Regions from separate parts of the Homo sapiens genome. Here all the other regions are linked to region 1. The links are contacts of gene promoters, found by promoter capture Hi-C in human tissues and cell types (Jung and others, 2019). All regions are on one chromosome and are shown on one strand. The core of a region is centred on a gene start or on the middle of the fragment in contact, and the rest is flanking DNA. Distances in the headings are between cores, read along the strand shown. Region 1 holds the start of TIMM22 (translocase of inner mitochondrial membrane 22). Region 2 overlaps ABR (ABR activator of RhoGEF and GTPase). Region 3 has its middle 13 kb from the start of ABR-AS1.

What was found. The method cuts DNA at HindIII sites, captures the fragments that hold promoters and counts their contacts. A contact is called where the count stands out against the background at its distance.
Region 2: a fragment that was not itself captured here is called in contact with the fragment with the promoter of TIMM22 in region 1 in 3 of the 25 tissues and cell types used here (IMR-90 fibroblasts, dorsolateral prefrontal cortex and thymus).
Region 3: a fragment that was not itself captured here is called in contact with the fragment with the promoter of TIMM22 in region 1 in 3 of the 25 tissues and cell types used here (bladder, dorsolateral prefrontal cortex and spleen).

The regions. Positions count from the first base shown.
Region 1 is chr17:994,884-998,528 of GRCh38, reverse strand. It overlaps TIMM22 (translocase of inner mitochondrial membrane 22), which reads right to left and starts at 1,400. Exons shown (of 4, transcript NM_013337.4): 1 at 1,149-1,400. The coding sequence starts at 1,386. RefSeq lists an enhancer at 687-1,378. The HindIII fragment of the contact is 16,003 bases long and covers 1-3,645 here.
Region 2 is chr17:1,140,043-1,143,432 of GRCh38, reverse strand. The region is part of intron 1 of ABR (ABR activator of RhoGEF and GTPase); the gene reads left to right. Among named protein-coding and RNA genes, the nearest start is that of ABR, 38 kb to the left of the region's middle. The HindIII fragment of the contact is 6,228 bases long and covers 1-3,390 here.
Region 3 is chr17:1,193,255-1,196,488 of GRCh38, reverse strand. It overlaps a transcript of ABR not described here. Among named protein-coding and RNA genes, the nearest start is that of ABR-AS1, 13 kb to the right of the region's middle. The HindIII fragment of the contact is 6,525 bases long and covers 1-3,234 here.

The DNA.
Region 1 (3,645 bases), core at 151-2,650:
TCTATTCTCTCTACATTCTCTCATATGTAAACCAGCCACCCTCAACTTCAGCTATCAACTTTGCAAATCACTCTCTTGGCCACTGTGACATTCACAGTAATGCTTTACTGAGCACATGCCAGTATGCCACAGCCTCATTCATTCTTCACAATAATCCAGTGAGACAGATGCTATTAGCCTCTCCTTTCTATAAACTGAGGCTCAGAGAGGTTAAGCAACTTCTCCCAAGGCCACACAGCTACCTAATGGCAAATCCCACACTGCTGCCACATCTGTCCTTCCTGAGCCGGCTGGACATGTCCAGATGGATGCCCTCTCATGACCTCATGGTCAATATGAGTTTAATAAAATCATGGGCACCTCCCCTTCAACTTAAGGGAAAAACAGAAGGACAAGTGCAGACTTCGTCTCTCCTTGCTCGGGGCTGTCTAGTCACAATGGTCTTTCAGTTTTTCAAACCTCAAACAACTGCTGCCCTAGAGTCGTCTGCATGTGCATTTCCATATGTCTGCATCCTTCCTCTGCAGTGTTCCTGCTCAACATTCTTCTCCACATAGTATAATACAGGCCCCATGAAGACCAGGCTCTTGTCTCTTTCACCTGGCACGTGATATTGCTTAGGAACAATTTGTTGAAAGAATTATTTAAGAGAATGAATTTAAGGGAATGAACGGATGAATGAAGTCACCCACGTAATAACTTTTTGTTGTTGTTTTTGAGACGGAGTCTCGCTCTGTCGCCCAGGCTGGAGAGCAGTGGCACATCTCGGCTCACTGCAAGCTCCGCCTCCTGGGTTCAAGCGATTCTCCTGCCTCAACCTCCCGAATAGCTGGGACTACAGGCGCCCACCACCACGTCCAGCTAATTTTTTGTATTTTTAGTAGAGACGGGGTTTCACCGTGTTAGCCAGGATGTCATGTAATAACTTTCAGGCCCCAACCACAGCACCGATTCTCTAACCCAATTTTCATCAGGAAAGCCGGCCTGAGGGGGCAGGAGAGGTGACGCCCGATTCACGAACGAGGCGAGGGTGTGGTCAAGGTCAAGGCCCGCAGTCCCTCGCCTCCCAGGCGCGTGGTCTTCTCGGCAGAGATCCCCACTGCCGTCCAGGCCCTCAGCCTCCCAAGGGTCCCATCGCCCGGCCTCACCTCCCACGCAGGCCAGCGCAGCCTTGAAAGCGCAGCTTTCCATCGCCTTCTCGATCATCTTCTGCTCCTCACTCTTGGCTGGACTTGGGATCCCGCCCAGGCTCCCAGGCTCCAGGAGCCGGGGCTGACGCTTGTCACCCACCAGGTACTGCAGGAGCAGGCTGTACTGCAGCGGAGCTTCGGCGGAACCCGCTGTCTCAGGGGCCGAGCCTCCGGCATTGGGGGCGGCCGCCGCCATGACAGTCGCTGCCCAAGCAACCCTCGCGTCCTTCTCCCCGCAGCAGATTCGACAAGCGTCACGTTGCGGGCCCTGAGACTAGCCACTGTGATGCAACGGCAGATTCGCCGCAGGAGGAAGCCGCGGCCGCAACGCTCCTGGTGCGCACACCAGCGAGACCGCTATCATGTTTCCAAAAAGAAAGCCTCTTGTGAAAATGGAATTGGGCTTGGACAGCTTTCCCCATGTCACAGACAAACGAGATTCAGATTCACCAGAAAGCGCCCTCACGGTCGGGGCTGCAGCGCGGTGAGTACCGGGATTTGTAGTTCTAATCCGACACCCAACTACATTTCCCAGGAAGCGTTGCGCGTGCTCTCGCGCCTCGGCCCCGCGCGGGGCTCTTACGAGCTCCTGAGGGGAGCGAGGAGTGGCCGCGCGCTCCGGGGCTGCCGTGCTCCGGATCGCCGGGAGGGGACGCGCGAGCATTGTCGCTGCCCTTTCCACCTCGTGCTGTCATCGGGCGGTGAGGCGTTAAATCCCGTGGTCCCGGAAGGTGCGGTGAGAGGTGGATGCTTTGTAGATAAGCGTGAACTTGTGCTGTAAATGCACGGACCGGGCGCGGGGGCTCACGCCTGTCATCCAGCACTGTGGGAGGCCGAGGCCGGTGGATCACGAGGTCAGGAGTTCGAGACCAGTCTGACAAACATGGTGAAACCCCATCTCTACTAAAAATTAAAAAAATAAAAAATAAAAAAATTAGCTGGGCATGGTGGTGCACGCCTGTATTCTCAGCTACTTAGGAGGCTGAAGCAGGAAACCCCGTCTCTACTAAAAATATAAAAATTAGCCAGGTGGCGGCAGGCGCCTGTAATCTCAGTTACTCGGGAGGCTGAGACAGGAGAATCTCTTAAACCCGGGAGGTGGAGGTTGCAGTGAGCCAAGATCGCACCATCGCACTCCAGCCTGGGCGACAAGAGCAAGACTCCGTCTCAAAAAAAAAAAAAAAAAAAAAAAAATCCTAACTGACAGCATTTGCTGACTTGTGTGGTGTTAATATCCCCATCATGGCTGATTTCAAACTACCAAGCGAGGTCATCAGTCAGAATTGGGAAGACGTACAGCAGCATGTGGTTACATGGTGTTTCTATCACACAGATACAATCTATGGAAATAACCTCAACAGCATAGATAGGAGTACAGTGTAGTAAAATTTTTAGGAGGGGATGAGTTTTGAGCACATATTACCTATTTTTAGTGTAATTTATTATAAATGTATAGAATGTAATTTTTAATAATAACTGTGCTTAACAACCAGCTCAAAAACTCCTGATAATTTGTTGCCTTACTTTTTAAAATTACTCTTTTGAGACAGAGTCTTGCTCTGTCACCCAGGTTGGAGTGCAGTGGTGCAATCTCCGCTCACTGCAACCTGCACCTCCCGGGTTTGAGCGATTCTCCTGCCTCAGCCTCCCGACTAGCTGGGATTACAGGCACATGCCACCATGCCCGGCTAATTTTTGTATTTTTAGTAGAGACAAGGTTTCACCATGTTGGCCAGGCTGGTCTCAAACTCCTGACCTCAGGTGACCCACCCACCTCGGCCTCCCAAAGTGCTTGGATTCCAGGCGTGAGTCACTGCGCCCGGCCAGTTAGGGCCTTTTTGTTATTGTTGTTAAACATTTACCATTATACCACTGCACTGCAAGCATATTTTGGGAACCAAGAACACTTCCTCCTCTTTGAGGAAACCAGAATTGGGGCCTGGAGGCAGAGAAATTGGGAATGGATTTCTGGTCATATCCAGGAAAATCCTAGGGGATGTTGGAGAGAGGTTTTCAGTCCCAAGAATGCTAACACTTTGGCATCATTTTGTACTCCTCGTATGAACAAAACGTGGCCTGGGAACACCTCTGGGCATTTAAGCACACTTTTTGCTAATGGCCTGAAGGCAGTGCCGTAGCAAGCATCTGCCTACTTGGGCCAGGGACTCTCAGAAGATGTTGATCGGAAAAGATTCCTCTGCTGGGCATGGTGGCTCACACCTGTAATCCCAGCACTTTGGGAGGCTGAGGCAGGAAAATTGCTTGAGTCTGGGAAGTTGAGACTGCAGTGAGTCATGATCGTGCCACTGCACTCCAGCATGGACGAGGGAACGAGACCCTGTCTCAAAAAAAAGAAAAAAAAAAGATTAAGTAAACAGTGGTCATTTTATTCAGAGGGCTGAAAAACAATTTCCATCAAGGGCTGCGAAAGGGCTGGGGTGTTCCATAGCCCAGG
Region 2 (3,390 bases), core at 386-2,885, 140 kb before region 1:
GAGCTGTCCCCCAGGAGCGAGCTGCCCCCCAGGAGCGAGCTGTCCCCCAGGAATGAGCTGTCCCCCAGGAGCGAGCTGCCCCCCAGGAGTGAGCTGTCCCCCAGGAATGAGCTGTCCCCCAGGAGCGAGCTGCCCCCCAGGAGCGAGCTGTCCCCCAGGAGCGAGCTGTCCCCCAGGAATGAGCTGTCCCCCAGGAGCGAGCTGCCCCCCAGGAGCGAGCTGTCCCCCAGGAATGAGCTGTCCCCCAGGAGCGAGCTGCCCCCCAGGAGCGAGCTGTCCCCCAGGAATGAGCTGTCCCCCAGGAGCGAGCTGCCCCCCAGGAGCGAGCTGTCCCCCAGGAATGAGCTGTCCCCCAGGAGCGAGCTGCCCCCCAGGAGCGAGCTGCCCCCCAGGAATGAGCTGTCCCCCAGGAGCGAGCTGTCCCCAGGAATGAGCTGTCCCCCAGGAGCGAGCTGTCCCCCAGGAGTGAGCTTCCTCCCAGGAGTGAGCTGCCCCACAGCCTCTGCCCGGCCTCCAGTTGCCGCTTTGCTGGGCTAATGAGGGGCTCCAGGCCTCGGGGTGAGGGTGGCGCTGTCTGTGCTCCCAGTGGCTGCTACAGGCCAGGCCGAGGGTCCTGAGTGAATGAGACAGGGGCCGACCCCCACCCACCCCTGCCTGTCTGTGGTTCACAATCAGAGCAAAGCCCTTTCCGTCCGTCTTGTCTTCTCTTCCCCAGCGAATCCCACAGTCCCCAAGACTGAGGACAAGCCCTGCCTCTTCCGGGCAGCCTTCCCTGTGCTGGCTGAATTGATCACGCGCCTGGCTGATGGCTTCATAGGCTGCTTCAGAGTATTTTTTTTTTTTTTTTGAGATGGAGTTTCGCTCTTATCGCCCAGGCTGGAGTGCAATGGTGTGATCTCAGCTCACTGCAACATCCGCCTCCCGGGTTCAAGCGATTCTCCTGCCTCAGCCCCCCGAGTAGCTGGGATTACAGACATCTGTCACCATACCCGGCTAATTTTTATATTTTTAGTAGAGACGGGGTTTCTCTATGTTGGCCAGGCTGGTCTCGAACTCTCGACTTCAGGTGATCCGCCTGCCTCGGCCTCCCAAAGTGCTGGGATGACAGGCGTGAGCCACTGTGCCCAGCAAGAGTCTTAGTTCCATTTGGTTGTAAAGACGCTCACTTCAGTGTCCCTGTCTGAACCTGGCGGCTCTTGGCCTTCCTATACATTAGAGTCACCTGGGGAGCTTTTAACAGGCCTGATGCCCAGGCCATTCCATACCAATTCAGTAGCAATCCCTGGGGTAGGAGCCAGAGAGCTTCCCAACTCCCCAGGGATTCCAGTGTGCAGTGAAGATTGGAACAGTTATCTTAGGATTCAAGTCATGAACTGGCCGGGCGCAGTGGCTCACACCTGTAATCCCAGCACTTTGGGAGGCCGAGGCAGGTGGATCACCTGAGGTCAGGAGTTTGAGACCATCCTGGCTAACATGGTGAAACCCTACCTCTACTAAAAATACAAAATTATCCGGGCGTGGTGGCGGGCACCTGTAATCCCAGCTACTCAGGAGACTGAGGCAGGAGAATTGCTTGAACCGGGGAGGTGGAGGTTGCAGTGAGCCAAGATTGTGCCATTGTACTCTAGCGTGGGAGACAGAGCAAGACTCTGTCTCCAAAAAAAAAAAGAATTTAAGTCGTAACTAGTCCACCAGCCTGTGCTGAATGGAGGCTGACTGATGAACAGCAGAGTTAGCTGACAAAGCTTGCTGTAGTCTTAACTCACTGCAAATTGCCAAAGCCCTGGTTTGTTTTTTAAGGGCTGGGAGGTCCCTAAGGGTTCTTGGTACTCAGGAAGGAGAGCAGGGGAATAATGATAATAGCTGCCGTTTTGTTAGCGCCAGCTTTGGGTGCCTTGCATAGCATATATTTCCTCATTGTAACCTCGCAAAAGCTTCATGAGGTATAGATCTTGTTTTTATCCTCATTTTAGAGATGAGAAAACTGAGGCTCTGAATGGCTAAGTAGCTTGCCCAAGGTCACATGGCTAAGGTCACATTCCCGAAGTGCTAATCTCAGGAATGGAACCCGAGTGTGATTCCAAAGCCTCTGCCCTTGACCACTGAGCTGTCCTGGCTCCCCAACCTCTGCTCCATCAATCAAAGAATGGGGGGCCCTGAGAAGGAGGTGGCTTGTCCCGTGGGAAAGATGCTGGTTTCCAGGATTCCTCCCCTTGGAGCCAGGCCCTGACTGAGGGGCTCCCGATGGTATTAAATATCTCCTGGATCAGCTGGGGTCACCTGGACCCTGAAGGTGTCTACTTTCCCGTTGCCTACGACACCCACTCGGCTTCAGCTGAGCTTTCCCAAGGACCCTTCTGCCCTGATACTGTGCCCAGTTCTTTAACCTACATCATGTTATTTAATGTCATTTTCACAACCACCCTGTGACATGGTATCGTTATCCTCATCTTGTTTCTTTGAGACAGTCTCACTCTGTCACCCAGGCTGGAGTGCTGTGGTGCGATCTCAGCTCACTGCAACCTCTGCCTCCCAGTGCAATAGAAGACTGGCCGGGCGCGGTGGCTCACACTTGTCATCTCAGCACTTTGGGAAGCCGAGGTGGGCGGATCACTTGAGGTCAGGAGTTCGAGACCAGCCTGGCCAACATGGTGAAACCCCATCTCTACTAAAAATACAAAAATTAGCCGGGCATGGTGGCGGGTGCCTGTGATCCCAGCTACTTGGGAGGCTGAGACAGGAGAATTGCTTGAACCTGGGAGGCGGAGGTTGCAGTGAGCTGAGATCCCACCACTGCACTCCAGCCTGGGTGACAGATTGAGACTTCGTCTCCAAAAATAAATAAATCAATAAAATAAAGTGCAGTAGAAGACAGTGTCCTTATTGTTGTAGGTGAGGTGGTAGATTTTGTATCTGAGCCACCATCCCTGCTGAAATTGCCCCGGACAGGCTGATCTGGTACAGGTGGCACCTGGGAAGTGGCAGCCTCGCTTCCGCTGGCCAGTTCCCTGGTTCAGGGTTGCCGGCCTCCCAGATCCACACCTGTGGTCCAGACTCTGCTGTCTGGCTGCCCGTTGGATCTTCTGACAGGGATGGCCATGAGTCTTCTCAGTCCAGACATGTCTCCACCTGGACTTAGGGTCTGTTCCCCCGGAACCAGCTCCCCCTTCCTGTCCATCGCTCAGCCCTCCAAGCCCAGAGGACCCTGCTGTGGCCGCATTTTCAGTCAACTCTCCCATCGCCAGACTTTGCCCTTGGTTCCCACCATGGTCACCTTTGACAAAGCACGGAGGGGCGGTTTGCCCCGTTCCACATCATCTCATGCACCACAGTCAGCTTCGTTTTCCTGAAGTCACCTCTGAAATCACCTTGCCATTTTGGCATCCGTGG
Region 3 (3,234 bases), core at 100-2,599, 200 kb before region 1:
GAGAAGTTAGCTAAGAAATCTTTTCTAAATTAAATTTAATTAATTAATTTGTTTTTTGGGCCAGAGTTTTCACTCTTGTCACCCAGGCTGGAGTGCAGTGGTGTGATGTCAGCTCACTGTGACCTCCACCTCCTGGGTTCAAGTGATTCTCCTGCCTCAGCCTCCCGAGTAGCTGGGATTACAGGCACGTGCCACCATGCCCAGCTAATTTTTGTATTTGTAGTAGAAAGAGGGTTTCGCCATGTTGGCCAGGCTGGTCTTGAACTCCTGACCTCAGGTGATCCGCCTGCCTCGGCCTCCCAAAGTGCCGGGATTATAGGCGTGAGCCACCGCACCTTGCCTATTTTTTTTTTTTTTTTTGAGACAGAATCTCGCTCTGTTGCTCAGGCTGGAGTGCAGTGTCGTGATCTCGGCTCACTGCAACCTTCTCCTTCTTGGTTCAAGCGATCCTCGTGCCTCAGCCACCTGAGTACCTGGGATTACAGGCACCTGCTACCATGCCTGGCTAATTTTTGTATTTTTAGTAGAGATGGGGTTTTGCCATGTTGCCCAGGCTCGTCTCGCACTCCTGACCTCAAGTGATCCCTGACCTCAAGTGATCTCTCCCCACAATCCCAACTTGCCTTCCCAAAGTTCTGGGATTACAGGCGTGAGCCACCGCGCCGGCCAATAATTTTTTTTTTTTGAGACAGAGTCTCGCTCTGTTGCGCAGGCTGGAGTGCAGTGACACGATCTCGGCTCACTGCAACCTTTGCCTCCCGGGTTCACACCATTCTCCTGCCTCAGCCTCCTGTGTAGCTGGGACTACAGGCGCCCACCACCACGCCCGGCTAATTTGTTGTATTTTTAGTAGAGACGGGGTTTCACCGTGTTAGCCAGGATGGTCTCGATCTCCTGACCTCGTGATCCACCCGCCTCGGCCTCCCACAGTGCTGGGATGACAGGCGTGAGCCACTGCCCAGCCAATAATTTTCTTTAAAATGCTCCTTACGCTACTTGCTGAGCCTGGGTCAGGCAGGGCTGGGGGCTGCCTTTGGGAGAGAGATACACCAGAGACTAGTTAATCACTGTAGCAGTAGAAAACACCCTTAAGGGCCGGGCCTGATGGCTCACGCCTGTAATCCCAGCACTTGGAGAGGCCAAGGTGGGAGGATCCTTTGAGGCCAGGACTTTTTTTTTTTTTTGAGACAGTCTCATTCTGTCGCCCAGGCTGGAGTGCTGTGGCGCGATCTCCGCTCACTGCAAGCTCCGCCTTCCGGGTTCACGCCATTCTCCTGCCTCAGCCTCCCGAGTAGCTGGGACTACAGGCGCCCGCCACTGCGCCCGGCTAATTTTTTGTATTTTTAGTAGAGACGGGGTTTCACCGTGTTAGCCAGGATGGTCTCGATCTCCTGACCTCGTGATCCGCCCGCCTCGGCCTCCCAAAGTGCTGGGATTACAGGCGTGAGCCACCGCGCCTGGCCTGAGGCCAGGACTTCAAGAGCAGCCTGGGCAACATAGTGAGGTTCTGTCTGTACAAAATTAAAAAAAAAATTAGGGTCGGGCGCGGTGGCTCACACCTGTAATTCCAGCACTTTAGGAGGCCGAGGTGGGTGAATCACCTGAGTCAGGAGTTCGAGACCAGTCTGGCCAACATGGCGAAACCCTGTCTCTACTAAAAATACAAAATTTTTAGGGCATGGTGGCACATGCCTGTAATCCCAGCTACTAGGGGGGCTGAGGCAGGAGGATTGCTTGAACCCGGGAGGTGGAGGTTGCAGTGAGCTGAGACCGCACCACTGCACTCCAGCCTGGGCAACAGAGCGAGACTCCATCTTAAAAAAAAAAAAATTAGCTGGGTGTGGTGGTGCATGCCTGTAGTCCTAGCTATGCAAGAAGTTGAGGCAGGGGGATGGCTTGAGCCTGGGAGGTCGAGACTGTAGTGAGCTATGATTGCACCACTACACTCCAGTCTGGGCGATAGAGTGAGACTTGTCTCTAAAAAATAAAGAAGGCTGGGCGAAGTGTCTCACACCTGTAATCCCAGCACTTTGGGAAGACGAGGCAGGCAGATCACCTGAGGTCAGGAGTTGAGACCAGCATGGCCAACATGGTGAAACCCCTCTCTACTAAAAATACAAAACAAAACAAAAAAATAGCTGGGCGTGGTGGCGTGTACCTGTAATCTTAGCTACTTGGGAGGCTGAGGCAAGAGAATTACTTGAACCCGGGAGGCGGAGGTTGCAGTGAGCCAAGATCGTGCCATTGCACTCCAGCCTGGGCGACAGAGAGAGACTCTGTCTCAATCAATCAATCAAAATATAAATAAATAAAAAAAAACAAAGGAAACACCCTTGCCACCAGAGATCCTCCAGGTACAAACCTCATGTTCAAGGAGAAATCAAAAGACCCAGGAGCTTGTCAGATTTCAGTAGAGGAGAAAGAGGATGGAAATTCATCTTTGTGTCTTCCTTCCTCTGCCACTTCCCCTGGAGAGTAAGCTTTAAGAGCTGCAGTGGCCAGGCGCGGGGCTCACGCCTGTTATCCCAGCACTTTGAGAGGCCAAGGTGGGCAGATCACGAGGTCAGGAGATCAAAACCATCCTGGCTAACACGGTGAAACCCCGTCTCTATTAAAAATACAAAAAAAAAATTAGCTGGGCGTGGTGGCGGGTGCCTGTAGTCCCAGTTATTCAGGAGGCTGAGGCAGGTGAATCGCTTCAACCTGGGAGGCGGAGGATGCAGTGAGCCGAGATTGTGCCACTGCACTCCACACTCCAGCCTGGGGGACAGAGGGAGACTCTATCTCAAACATAAAAACACACAAACAAAAAGGGCTGCACTGATGTGCTTGAATTAGCGTCAGTTGCCAGTACTCCCTGGCGTGCTGGAAACCGAGCTCTTCCTGAGTGAATGTCGGGCGGCATCTGGTCAGGATGCTTTCCTGAAGCTTCAGGACTGGTGGCCAGGTACAATTGCTCTGGACCGAGCCAGACCCGAGTGAGAACTTGGCTCTGTCACTCACTAGCAGTGTGAACTTGAGCCTCTTCTGTAAAGCGGGCGTGGTGACTGTGGCTTCCACATAGAGAGGCTGCTTGCGAAGAGTGAAGGTTACGTGCTTAACAGGGTGCCTAGAACGTAAATACTGGCGATGCTCGGGACACGTCGGCCGAAGGGCGTTCAGCAAACTCGCCGGGAGAGCGGGGGAGTCCTGAATCCTTGTGGGTATTGAGGGGGAGGGGGTGTCCCAGAAAGG